Linked DNA regions of Homo sapiens: region 2 is linked to region 1. The links are contacts of gene promoters, found by promoter capture Hi-C in blood cells and fetal thymus (Javierre and others, 2016). All regions are on one chromosome and are shown on one strand. Each heading gives the region's core, a stretch centred on a gene start or on the middle of the fragment in contact. The rest is flanking DNA. Distances are from core to core; before and after follow the strand shown.

What was found. Contacts are between HindIII fragments. The CHiCAGO score rates a contact against its expected background, and 5 or more counts as called.
Region 2: a contact is called between a fragment that was not itself captured here and the fragment with the promoter of ZNF485 in region 1, in 1 of 17 cell types (non-activated CD4 T cells). The highest score is 5.6, in non-activated CD4 T cells.

Annotation. Positions count from the first base shown.
Region 1 is chr10:43,601,829-43,608,499 of GRCh38, reverse strand. It overlaps ZNF485 (zinc finger protein 485), which reads right to left and starts at 2,062. Exons shown (of 5, transcript NM_145312.4): 1 at 1,954-2,062; 2 at 1,426-1,503. The coding sequence starts at 1,449. It also overlaps the pseudogene CAP1P2. RefSeq lists a silencer at 1,747-2,026 and an enhancer at 2,307-2,356. The HindIII fragment of the contact is 2,214 bases long and covers 336-2,549 here.
Region 2 is chr10:42,546,448-42,553,118 of GRCh38, reverse strand. It overlaps the pseudogene ZNF37BP. Among named protein-coding and RNA genes, the nearest start is that of LINC00839, 74 kb to the right of the region's middle. RefSeq lists an enhancer at 975-1,513. The HindIII fragment of the contact is 3,766 bases long and covers 1,611-5,376 here.

The DNA of each region.
Region 1 (6,671 bases), core at 813-3,312:
ACCAACAAGTAAAAGCTGAGGGCTCAGGGGATGTGCGACTCCTCCCTTGAGCAGGTTCTTCCTGCATGCCTGTCCTGCTCCCTCCTCCAGGCCTAGCCTCTGCTCACTCCACCCTTCATGTCACCTCATCAAAAAGGTCTTCTATTTCTCCACCCCATCCTCTGCCACTCAGTCTCGAAACCCATTTCACTTTTCTTCACAGGATTTCTCACCACCTGGCAGGAGAGGTTTGCACTGACTGTCAGCATCCTCTCTAATGTGAGCTCCAGGGGGACAGTGTGGGTCACTGCTGCCTCCCAGTCAAAAACACTGCCTGACACAGAAGTGTTCAAGCTTTATTCAATCAACAAATGAATAGAAACTTTGAAAAGACATGGAAAGTGATTAGCTTTATCCGAGAATTTACAGGGAGTATGATCTGACTCTGGGGCAGAATATTTTTAAAAAAGAAAAAAAAATTGCTTTTCATAAGAGTAACAACTTACTATGTACCAGCCACGGTGCTAAACCCTGAGATACATATCATCTCTCTAAATTTCTGCCGTAACTATATAAAGTAAAATCTATTTCGTAGCTAAAGACACAAAGGTTCAGAGAGTTGGAAGAACTTGCTCAAGGTCCCAGGGCTGGTTGAAGGCACAGTATAAAAGGAAGCCACAAAAAGTGGTAATGAAACTAGAACAAATTGGAATGGCTATGAAATACTAAAAGAAAAAATGAGTAAGCCTTAAAAAAATGAAAAGTGTGTTTCAAATGAAATTACTTGACTTAGAGCAGTAGAAATGTAGGTGATCTTTAATTTTTTTAATTTTATTTGTATAATAGACACTCAAATGTTTATCACTTCCTTTCAAAATACCAATTATTTAATCAGCTTCTCAAAATCCTTCAAAACCTAGTTTTCTCCAGGATAAAAGCAAACTCCAGTCTGGGATTCTAGACCATGAATGTTTCCAACTTTCTCAGACCAGTTTGTTCATGGTCCCGCCATAATGACTTCATTCAGGCAGCGCTTTCCCCTAGTATCCTCTGCAATTATGCAAATCTCATTTATTCTTCAGGAAGAACTAAGGCGCCCACTACTCCACCCCTCCCACCCTACCACACACTAAAGGTCAAGAGAGCACTGCTATCACCCTATGTCTTTATGGCCTACGTCTTTACATGCTAACGTGTATTTTTTTCATCGTCTGCCAGTTTGCAAAGCACTTTTCTGTTTCTAGCACTCTAGAAAACATGGGTAGCAATAATCTACTTGGTGAATGACTACGTAATGGGTAGACAGGACGGAAATCGCGGGACCCATCCAGGATTGGTTCGGGTAGCTTTGTCCACACACAGGGCAGGGCATTGTCCGGGCAAGAGGCATAAACCCCACCTCGCTGAAACACGTGGTTTCTCAAGAAATGGAAAAATCAAACTTGCCTGGATCTGGGCTCTTGGGGCCATCTGTCTCCTGAACTGTTCTCCCAGGCAAGGGCTGAGAATCCTGCGTAAGTCAATCTGGGAAAGAAGAGAGGAAATTGAGGAAGTCCCTCCGTGCCCTAGCCTAGCTAGAATCTGCCCTCTAGACCAGGTCCCCGCCCGCCCGTTCCCTCCACAGGTGGGCAGACAGGTCCAGGTGGGTACGCTCGGGAAGAAAGGAAAGGGAACGGCTGCTGGGATCCGGCCTGGACTGCAGCCAGCTCCACGCCAAACACTTTTGGCAGCACCGGGGGACGGCCTTGTCAGTGGCCCAATCTGTCGGCCGGGGCGCAAGGCTGGAGCGCTCTGTGATGCACCAGCCTCGAGCGGTCGCTCCACACGGCGCAGCCACTGCGGGTGGGCACTGCCCACCGCCGCCTTCCCCTCCCACCCCGGCTCGCCCCTCGACCCGCCCCTGGGAAAGGCGGGGAGCACCCGCCAGGGGCTCGAGGCTTCAGGGACCCAGCCTGACCCCGGCCGCTCACGAACCGAACCGAGCCGGCAGGGCTGCGGAGCTGCACGCCCAGAGAGTCAGCGACCACACCACGCCGTTCGGACAGTAACCACCAGCCAGGGGCTGGTGCAGCGCTCGCACCACGCGGAGACAGGCTGGACCGGAAGCGGAAGTGGCTGAGGCCGCGGAGGCCTCTGGGAAACGTAGTCTGGGCCGCTTGGGGTCTTAGGGGCTCCATCCGCAGAGCAGGTTGGCATCACCTGGGAATCTTTGAAAAGTGAAGGTGCGGGAAGTGGAGAGCGGCTGATCGCAGTCGGGAGGTGATACATTATGACTGACATGCAAAATCTGGTAAAAAATTGGACAGGGCAGTGGGCCGCCTGGAGGCAGTATCCCATACCTCTGACATGCACCGTGGATATGGAGATAGTCCTTCAAAAGCAGGAGCAGCTCCATATGCGCAGGCATTTGACTCGCTGCTTGCCTGCCCTGTGGCAGAGTACTTGAAGATCAGTAAAGAGATTGGGGAAGACGTGCAGAAAGATGTGGAGATGGTACACACAGTTTTGAAGTTGGAGTGAGCTCTCTTGGTTACAGCTTCTCAGTGTCAATAGCCGGCAGGTAATAAGCTTTCCGATCTGTTGGCACCTATCTCAGAGCAGATCAAAGAAGTGATAACCTTTTGGGAGAAGAACCGAGGCAGCAAGTTGTTTAATCAGCTGTCAGCTGTCAGTGAAAGTATCCAGGCCCTAGGCTGGGTGGCTATGGCTCCCAATCCTGGCCCTTATGTGAAAGAAATGAATCATGCTGCTGTGTTTTATACAAACTGAGTCCTTAAAGAGTACAAAGATGTGGATAAGAAGCATGTAGACTGAGTCAAAGCTTATTTAAGTATATGCACAGAGCTGCAGGCTTACATTAAGGAGTTCCATACCACCGGACTGCCTGGAGCAAAACGGGGCCTGTGACAAAAGAACTGAGTGGACTGCCATCTGGACCCTCTGCTGGATCAGCTACTCCTCCCCCACCACCAGGCCCCCCTCCTCCACTAGTCTCTGTCAGTTCAGGCTCAGATGAGTCCGCTTCCCTCTCAGCACTGTTTGCGCAGATTAATCAGGGGGAGAGCATCACACATGCCCTGAAACGTGTATCTGATGACATGAAGACTCACAAGAACCCTACCCTGAAGGCTCAGAGTGGTCCAGTACGCAGTGGCCCCAAGCCATTCTCTGCACCTAAACCCCAAACCAGCCACAAAGAAGGAGCCAGCTGTACTTGAACTGGAGGGCAAGAAGTGGAGAGTGGAAAATCAGGAAAATGTTTCCAATCTGGTGATTGATGACACAGAGCTGAAACAGGCGGCTTACATATACAAGTGTGTCAACACGATGTTGCAAATCAAGGGCAAAATTAACTCCATTACAGTAGATAATTGTAAGAAACTTGGTCTGGTATTCGATGATATGGTGGGCATTGTGGAGATAATCAACAGTAGGGATGTCAAAGTTCAGGTGATGAGTAAAGTGCCAACCATTTCCATCAACAAAACAGATGGCTGCCATGCTTACCTGAGCAAGAATTCCCTGGATTGTGAAATAGCCAGTGCCAAATCTTCTGAGATGAATGTCCTCATTCCTACAGAAGGCGGTGACTTTAATGAATTCCCAGTTCCTGAGCAGTTCAAGACCCTCTGGAATGGGCAGAAGTTTGTCGCCACAGTGACAGAAATTGCTGGATAAGCGAAGTGCCACTGGGTTCTTTGCCCTCCCTTCACACCATGGGATAAATCTGTATCAAGACGGTTCTTTTCTAGATTTCCTCTACCTTTCTGCTCTTAAAACTGCTTCTCTGCTCTGAAAAGCACAGCTACCTGCCTTCACTGAAATATACCTCAGATGTGCAGTGGGATAGCAGGTCAGTTGATCTTCTGCAGGAAGGTGCAGCTTTTCCAAATCAGCTCAACTGCCGACGAGGACTAATGATGCATTTTAGCTTTGAGCTTTGGGGGTTATTCTACCAACAAACAGTCCACTGGGAAGAAAACAGTCCCAGGAATTAACAGATCAGAACGTTCACACTGGTTAATCTTTTTCTGACAATGAGCATGAAGGTAGCAGAAGCTGGTGTGTTTCCAGATGGTTCTTCTAACCAAACTAATTTTTCACTATTGACAAGTGAGGCAAGGATTGCACTGGACCAAAGGCTGAGGCTTGGCCATCTAGCATTCCACGCAAAATTGTTTCCTATAAGCATTCCTTTTATTCACTATTCTATCCTGGGTCTGCCTCAACCATGAGATAGGAGAGTCTCCGGTACTAGCTGCTGTAGCAGTGCCCTTCATCCAGGGCAGTTAAAGGAGTATTCAACCCTTTCTTTCTCTGGGATCCCTGCCCAGCACCTTCCTACAGAGATGAAAAAAAAAAAAAGGAAAAACAACACTCCATTCCAAGGAGTCTGGTATTCCTGAATCCTCCTTCCCTGCTAGGTGCCTGTCACCTGTCTTCACTGCCTCCTTTTCCCTGTCACACTCACCAGCTTATGGCTTCTGTCCAAGCACCTGAACAGGGGACCAAAACCTCCACTGCAAGCTGCTTTTAGGTCTTGATTTATGTAAGAATCTTGCACAGCACTGCTAATGTAAATTTCAGTTTTTTCCCTCTAGGACAAACACTTACCAAAATACGCAACTTTTTTGGTGGGAAGAGAGATTGTCCTGTGATTTCTACCCATTTCCTGATCCTGTGGAAATAAATCTTTATGTACTTAAAGTTATACAGAAAATAGAATGAAATAAATACCAAAAAAAAAAAAAAGCAAAGTGAAGGTACCTGGGTCCCAGCTTCAGAGATTCTGAATTAATTGCCCTAAGTGTGGTCCTGGCATTCGGATTTTTTAAAGCCCCCAAGTGGTTCTAATGTACTGCTTAGGTTGACATCTGCCACCAGAAACTGATACGGAAAGTATGAGAGACATATTTTATGTGCCTTTGGATAGCTATTTGTTTCCAAATAATCCTGTTTTTATTTCATACAAATAAAAAGCATGTTAGAAAAGTACATCACCTAGAACACTAAAAACATTATTTCCTCACTATTTGCTGACATAGAAAATGAAAGTAGGTTGAATCTGTTTTAACAAATGTATTATTTTCTAGGAAAAACATATGTTTCTATTTATTAACTCCAGGAATTGGAAAGCTAAGGGAGGAAAATGTATCTCTCTCATTCAATTAGGGCCTTTTTTTTTAAGAAAATTTCTCAGGATGGTGCATTCATTTACCAATTTACCAGTGATTGACCAAAGGCCCACTGCGTGCTACTCACTTCTGGATGCTAAGGATAGAACAGCTGACAAGCGTCCCTCCTAGACTAAAGTGGAGTCAGGCTCCTTTGCATCCTCCTTTCAACTATGCCTTGTCTTGGCCTGGTGAGCCGAGTTTTAGCCAAGAATCCTACAAAGCCACTTTATCAAGAATCATGGCCAGGCATGGTGGTTCACACCTGTAATCCTAGGACTTTGGGAGGCTGAGGCGGGCGGATTGCCTGAGCTCAGGAGTTCGAGACCAGCCTGGGCAACACAGTGAAACCCCGTCTCTACTAAAATACAAAAGAAATTAGCTAGGCGTGACAGCGTGCGCCTATAGTTCCAGCTACTCAGGAGGCTGAGACAGGAGAATTGCTGGAACCTGGGAGGTGGAGGTTGCAGTGAGCTGACATCGCGCCACTGCATTCCATCCTAGGTGACAGAGTGAGACTCTACAAAAAACAAAAGAATCACACTTTTTCCATCACACTTTTTCCATCCCACTTTTTCCAGCAAGGGCACCTAAGGACCAGTCTTTCCTTACTTTGGGGGCTGGATCCAGAATCTGCATTTATTTATATATGGCTACCATTTGCTGATTCCAGAGGACATGCAGAGCCTTTTACATACATCATTACACTGAGCTCTCACCACCAAAGAAGGTACAATTATTATTCTCATTTTGCAGATGAGGAAATTGGCTCAGAGAACGTAACTTGTCTTTGGTCCCTCACCTAGTAAATAGCAGAGCTGGGTACCAACAGTCATTGTTGGATCCCAAAGCAAAGTTGCCCCCATTGGCTTTCCATCATCCCTCGACTGTCTGAACTCCTTGCCTAACCTGCTGGGCCCTCCACCCTTTCCTGCCTGCTTTGCCATCCTCACCTCTCCCTCGGCCAGAGCTCATGTGGCTCTGCCCCAGCGGCTTCCTTAGCCCCTTGCTCACCAAGCTTCACACCACCTAGGGAGCTGGACCCATGCAGGAGCTGCCCTGGGCTCTTCCTTCTGCTTGCCTAACTTGGGCCCCCACTCTTGTCCTGGCCAACTCCTCTCCATCCTTCCTATCTGAACTAAAATATCAATTTCACTTCTGTGGCCCAAGACTAAGAGACATCCTCTCTTAGTACACTCCACTATAAGTGCTCCTGTGTGGGGCTTGAACAAAGTGTCAATTGCCAGTGGACAGATGTAGGCAGAGCCTGCAGGAGTTACGTCAATCATTTGAAAAGAACATTATTTACTGATAATAGAGATTAAGGACTCAAAATGGGGTGTTGGGAGCAAGCCCCCCAAAATCCGGCCATAAACTGGCCCCAAAACTGGCCATAAACAAAATCTCTGCAGCACTGTAACATGTTCATAATGGCCCTAATGCCCACACTGGAAGGTTGTGGGTTTACGGGAATGAGGACAAGGAACACCTGGCCCGCCCAGGGCAGAAAACAGCTTA
Region 2 (6,671 bases), core at 2,244-4,743, 1.1 Mb after region 1:
CATAAGAAACCTGTGTAATTTAAATACTCATAATTTATTTCAGCTAACGAATAAAATTGCAGTATTGCACTCGGTGCATCTGGGAACTAACTACCGAACGGCGCTGAAACCTCAGGCCGTTTCTAAAGGAGCGGCGCGAGGACTTCTGGGAAATGTAGTCTTCACTTTCTCAGGGAGCGGCGCGAGGGCTTGTGGGAAATGTAGCGTGTACTTTCTAAGGGAGCGGCGCGAGGACTTGTGGGAAATGTAGTGTGCACTTTTTGGCCCCGGTCGCGGGAGCCGCTTTGGGCTTTCTGCGCATGTGCGCGGTGTGGCTCCAGGTTTGTTTTTCTCCGGTACAGCCTGGTAGGGAGGGCTCCCGGCATCTCCCTGCTTCGGGGCAGAGGATGCCGGGGGTAGAGTACGGGAGGGCTGGAGCGAGGGTGGACTGGAGGTGCCGCTTGTCCTGGAGGTGGGAGAGAGGGAGCGGCTTTGCCGCCTGGCCTGCGTCCTAATCCTGTCCTGGTTCTTCTGCTCCCGAAGGGAACGTAGGTCCCGCGCCTGTGATAAGTAAGGTTGGATTTTCTCTTCCCTGAGGTGAAGGATGCCCGGAGGCCTCGGCAGGACCGTGCGGAAACGGGCCTTCTGCCCAAAAGATGCTGCTTCTCTCCTTATTCTTTCCCCTCAGAATCTCGCTGTCTCCTTCCAACCACCTGTGGTCGGCATCCCCGCGTTGTCACTGCGACGCAGAGGCGAGCGAGGTGGCGGGAAGCACCCGCGGGGCGGGGAGGGACCCTGCGGGCGCGGACTCCACACCAAGCCTCTGCTCAGCGTCACCCCGCTTGCTGTGTCCTCGCAGGTCGCAGCTTCATGGCCTGATGCCTTCAGGAAGTATTTTGAAGTCATCGTGGCTGTGGATTGGGGGATTTCTTGTTTCCACTGACCTGTGAGGCCGCGCACGTGGAGGGAGGCACCCCGGGTCCTCCGGCACTGTCCGGCCTCGCCTGTGTCCCTAGTAGCAGTGGGCATTTCCAGACGGTGCAGCTTGTGGCTAAAGTGACAGGAAGATGTAGGAGCTTTCAGTCTTGGATGAGGATTCGAACTGAAGGGCTTAGGCCCAGCTGTCTTGGAGCAAAACATCTGTTGTGGGGTGAGAAGGGAAAGGAGGGGTGAGGGTGCAGGGGCCCTCCTAGGAGGACATCGGACCTGTTGGGCCGAGACCTCATTAGAGATCTAGAGCACGGATGGGAGGAGCAGAGGCTCGATTTGTGTCCTGTTCAGACTCCCACAGGCTGGGTGATGGTGGGAGATTTGTGCCCATTCAGATGTGGCGGCAGAGGAGGGCAAGGCCGAAGGAGCAGACAGCACCGCTTCTTGGGGAGTTGTGAAGGCATCATGCGGAGGGCCGAGCTTAGCAGCCAAGTGGAGGACAGCACCCTCCATGCCTGGATTCGTTACTCGCTCGTTCTCGATGTTGAGCTGCTGGCATATTGCAGCACAACTAGAGATGTACGGATGCCCCCATCTTGATCTTACAGAATCAGAGGTGCAGCCGCAAGAAAGGTCTGTAAGTTATCTATTTCGGCTTTATTTAAAAGATGGGATGGGGTGGGGTGGACAGGAAACAAGCTTAACATGTTAAGTGACTGTTGACATTGACACATTTTGTTGTGGCAGAGTCAAGAACAGACACTGAGTCGCTTGAGGACTCAGGCAGGTGTTTGCTGCATTGACAACAGAGTAAGAAAAAATCCGTTTGCTTTTTAAAATCCAAAGATGGTTTTGAGAACCTGAAACCAAGTTAGAGCAAGTTCGTTTTCCTTCCAAAAAAACTGGGCTCTGCCGGGCGCAGTGGCTCACGCCTGTAATCACAGCACTTTGGGAGGCTGAGGCCGGCAGATCACGAGGTCAGGAGTTCGAGACCAGCCTGACCAACATGGTGAAACCCCGTCTTTACTAAAAATACAAAAAATTAGCCCGACGTGGTGGTGCGCACCTGTAGTCCCAGCTACTTGGGAGGCTGAGGCAGGAGAATCACCTGAACCCAGGAGGCAGAGGTTACAGTGAGCCAAGACTGTGCCATTGCACTCCAGCCTGGGTGACAGGGCAGGACTCTGTCTCAAAAAAGCAAACAAAAAAAAACTGGGCTGAAAAATACCACATCACTTTTTTCAAAACCTTGTTGGGATTCTCTGGTTTATAATAAAGATTAAAACCTGAATATTTTTGTTTAGCATCAGTTTTAATGAAAGTATTATGTTCCATTCTTTGGCTTTTCCTAACTTGCTTAATTAGTTTAATATATTGGTTTGCATACTCTGTTAGAGTACAGCATAAGTTGTTTATAAGTCAGTAGAAAACCAAACGTTTTCACATTTGAAAACTAATGTGTCCAAGCAGTACATAACCATGCCAGAGTCATGCATGGACGTGTGAGTATCTCCCTTTTAGAGATGTTTTGCCAGCTGGGAGGTGGACATTTTTAGGCAAGTGACATTTCTCATGTTCTTTTCTTGTTTGTAAGCTACACCCTCTCGGTTTTCTCTGCTCTGCCAACACTAGTGGAATATGATCACATCCCAGGTAAGTTGTTTATTTTTTCACAGTTTTGCTTAAAACTAATTATTGAGGTTTAAAAAATGTCTATACATTCATATGAAAGTAGAAATAACATCCTGGAAAATATAGAGGAGAGGTCACATTACAGTTCATGGGTCAAATGCAGCCTACTGTCTGTTTTTTTATGGTCCACAAATGAAGGATGGTTTTTATACTTTTAGGTGGCTGAGGGAAAAAAACCAAGAGTATTATTTTGCTTGGAAATTGTATGAAATTCAGACTTCATTGTCTATGAATTTTTATTGGGACTCAGCTATACTCATGTATTTATGTATTGCCTGTTGGTACTTTCACACTACAAAGGCAGAGTTGACTGGTTGCAGCAGAGACTGTAATGGCCTACAAGCCTAAAATATTTACTGTGTGACTCTTTACAGAAAATGTTTGCTGATTTCTGATAGAGAGTTGATGAAGAGTAAGACAAAAATGTCATATAGGTGAATGCAGATCTTGTGATCTTACAGTTGTGAAACTGGAACATAAAACAGTTTGTCGGTGGGCTTTATTAGGTGACATTGTGAAACTTCTGATGACAGTCTTGCAGGTACTTAAAAAAGTAGTACAACAAAGTGAGTAATTCATGTGCAGTCCAGGGGAAAACTTAACAGATAGCAAAAGAAAGTATATGATTAAAAAATTCAAATAGGCCGGGCACATTGGCTCACGCCTGTAATCCCAGCACTTTGGAAGGCTAAGGCGGGTGGATCATGAGGTCAGGAGTTCGAGACCAGCCTGACCAACATGGTGAAACCCTGTCTCTACTAAAATTACAAAAATTAGCTGGGCATGGTGGTGCGTGCCTGTAATCCCAGCTAGTCAGGAGGCTGAGGCAGGAGTATCACTTGAACCCAGGAGGTGGAGGTTGCAGTGAGCCGAGATTGTGCCACTGCGCTCCAGCCTGGGCAACAGAGTGAGACTCCGTCTCAGGAAAAAAAAAAAAAAAAAAAAAAATCCAATGAATTGTGTAGCATTAGGACTCATGGTTGTTTAAAGAAACAGTCCTGGTAGGCTAGGGTGATCATGGGTTGTTAGGATGTGGCAGGCTTTGTGACAGCCTTAGAGACTGGGCAGAACTGGAATATTTGCAATAACTTTCGAGGGATTCTACCTAAAAAAAAAATTGTGGTAAAACACACATCACATGAAATTCACAAGCCATTTTAAAGTATAGAATTCAGTGACTTTAGTACATTCACAATGTTGTACAACCATAACCACCATTTATTTCTGGAATATTTTCATCACACCAAAAGGAAACACATCACCCTTAATAAGCAGTATTGTAACTTAATAAGCAGTTGCTCCCTTTTCCCCGCTGTGCTCCCAGCCCCTAACAACCAATAATCTCCTTTCTGTCTTTATAGATTTGCCTATTTTGGATATGGCATATGAATGGAATCATACAATTTGTGTCTGATCTCTCACTTAGAATAATGTTTTCAAGACCCATTTATGTTGTAGTTGTATATCAGTACTTTGTCCCTTTTTATGACTGAACAATATTCTATTATATGGATATATCACCTTTTGTTTATCCATTCATCTGTTGATGGACATTGGGGGTCATCCTGTGTTTCGCTATTGTGGAGAGTGCTCCTATGAGCATTCATGTACAAATATTTGTTTGAATACATGCTTTCAATTGTTTTGGGTATATACGTACAAGTGAAATTGCTGGGTGATATGGTAATTTTACATTTAATTTATTGTGAAACCGACAGTTTTCCACAGCAGGGTGCTTTGCAATCCATAGGAATTTTTAGTTAGCTTTTCTATTTCTGCAAAAAAGTATGTTGAGTTTTTGATAAGTATTGGATTGGGTAAGTATTAGAGTGGGTGATAACACTTTGGGGAGTGTTATCTTAATATTAAATCTTATAATCAATGAACATAAGATTTTTTTTCCCTAGGTCTTCTTTCCTTCATTAATATTTTGTAGTTTTCAGTGTACAAGTGTTGCATATCCTTGCTTAAATTTATTAAATAGTTTTTCATTTAAATGCTATCGTAAATTATATGAAATTCAGACTTCAGTGTCTATAAAGTTTTATCGGGACTCAGCCATACTCATGTATTTATGTATAGCCTGTGAGTACTTTCACACTACGAGGGCAGAGTTGACTGGTTGCAGTAGAGACTGTGATGGCCCACAAGCCTAAAATTTCTTTTGTTTAAATGCTATTGTAAGTGGAATTGTTAATTTGCTTTTTGACTGCTCATTGTAATGAGTACACAAATAATTTTTGAGTGTTGATCTTGTATCTTGTAATTTTGCTGAATTTGTTTCCTACTTCTAGTAGTTTCTTTGTGGATTCTTTAGTATTTTCTGCATATAAGATCATGTCATCTGCAAACAAAACTATTTCATTTCTTTCTTTCTAATTTGGGTTTATTTATTTATTTACTTAGCCTAATTCCTCTGGCTGAAATTTTTAGTACAATGTTGAATATATGTGGCCAAAGCAGGCATCTTTATTTATTGTTAGTTTTTTGCTTTAGCAATCTTAACTATTTTTGGATGTACAGTTCAGAAGCAGTGTTAAGTATATTCATATTGTACATCTAATCACCAGAATTTTTTCATCTTGGGAAATTGAAATTCTCTACCCATTAAACAATAACTCCCCATTTTCCCCTCCTCCTTGCCCCTGGCAACCACCATCCTACTTTCTGTTTCTATGAGTTTCACTATTTTTGCTATATCTCATATAAGTGAAATCATACAGTATTTGTCTTATTGTGACTGGCTTATTTCACCTAGCGTAATGTCCTCAAGCTTCCTCAGTGTTGTAGCATGTGTCAGAATTTATCTCCTTTCTGATGTTGAATGATATTTCATTGTACCCATGTTTTGTTTATTCATTCATCTGTCAGTGGACATTTGGGTTCCTTCCTCCTTTTAACTGTTGTGAATAATGCTACTGTGAACATGGGGTACAACTATTCTTTGAGATCCTTCTTTCAGTTCTTTTGGTTATATACTCAGAAGTGGTATGGCTGGAACCTATGGTAATTCTATTTTTAATTCCTTGAGGAAACACCGACCTGTTTTCTACAGAAGGTGCACCATTTTACAGTCCCATCCTCAGTGTACAGGATTCTGATTTCTCCATATCCTTGCCAACACTCGTTATTTTCTTTTGTTGTTTTGATAGCAGCCATTGTAATGGGTGTATGGTAATTTTTCACTGTGGTTTTGATTTGTATTTCCCTAATGATCAGTGATGTTGAGCATATTTTCATAAGCTTGCTGACCATTTATATATCTTTAATGGAGAAATGTCTGTTCAAATCCTTTGTCCATCTTTGAATCAGGTTATTTTGTTTGTTTTGAGTTGTAGGGGTTCTTTATATATTTTTTATATTAATTCCTCATCAGATACATGAATTGCAAATATTTCCTCCTGTTGTGTTGGTTGTCTTTTCATTCAGTTAACTGTGTCCTTTGATGCACAATTTTTAAGTTTGATGTGGTCCAATTTATTTTTATTTCTGTTGCCTGTGGTTTTTGGTATTATATCCAAGAAAACATTGCCACACGAATCCATTCTCCTATGTGTTCTGCCATGAGTTTTGTACCTTTAGTTCTTAGATTTAGGTCTTTGATTCATTTTGAGTTAATTTTTTTGTTTTTGTTTTGTTTTGCATGTGGCTATCCAGTTTTACCAACACTATTTGTTAGAAAAATTGTCCTTTCCCTATTGACTGTTCTTGACAACTTTGTTGAAAATCATTTTACCATACATGCATGGGTTTTCAAGATTATTTTGGCTAGTTGAGATCCCTTGAAATTCTATGTAAACTTCAGGATGATTTATTTCTATTTCTGTTACTATGTCTTCTTTGTAGACTTAGTTTTTTTTTTTTTTTAATCAATATGTAGTGTTTTTCTCTTGTAACAATTTTTGATTTAAAGTCTCTTTTGTCTCAGTATAGCCACCCTGGCATTCTTTAGGTTACTATCCTCTTCTGTCATTTCAATTTCAACCTATTGTGTTGTGTGTTTGTATCTAAAGAGAGTGTCTTGTAGACAATATATACCTGGATCATATATTTTTATTTATTTTGCCAAT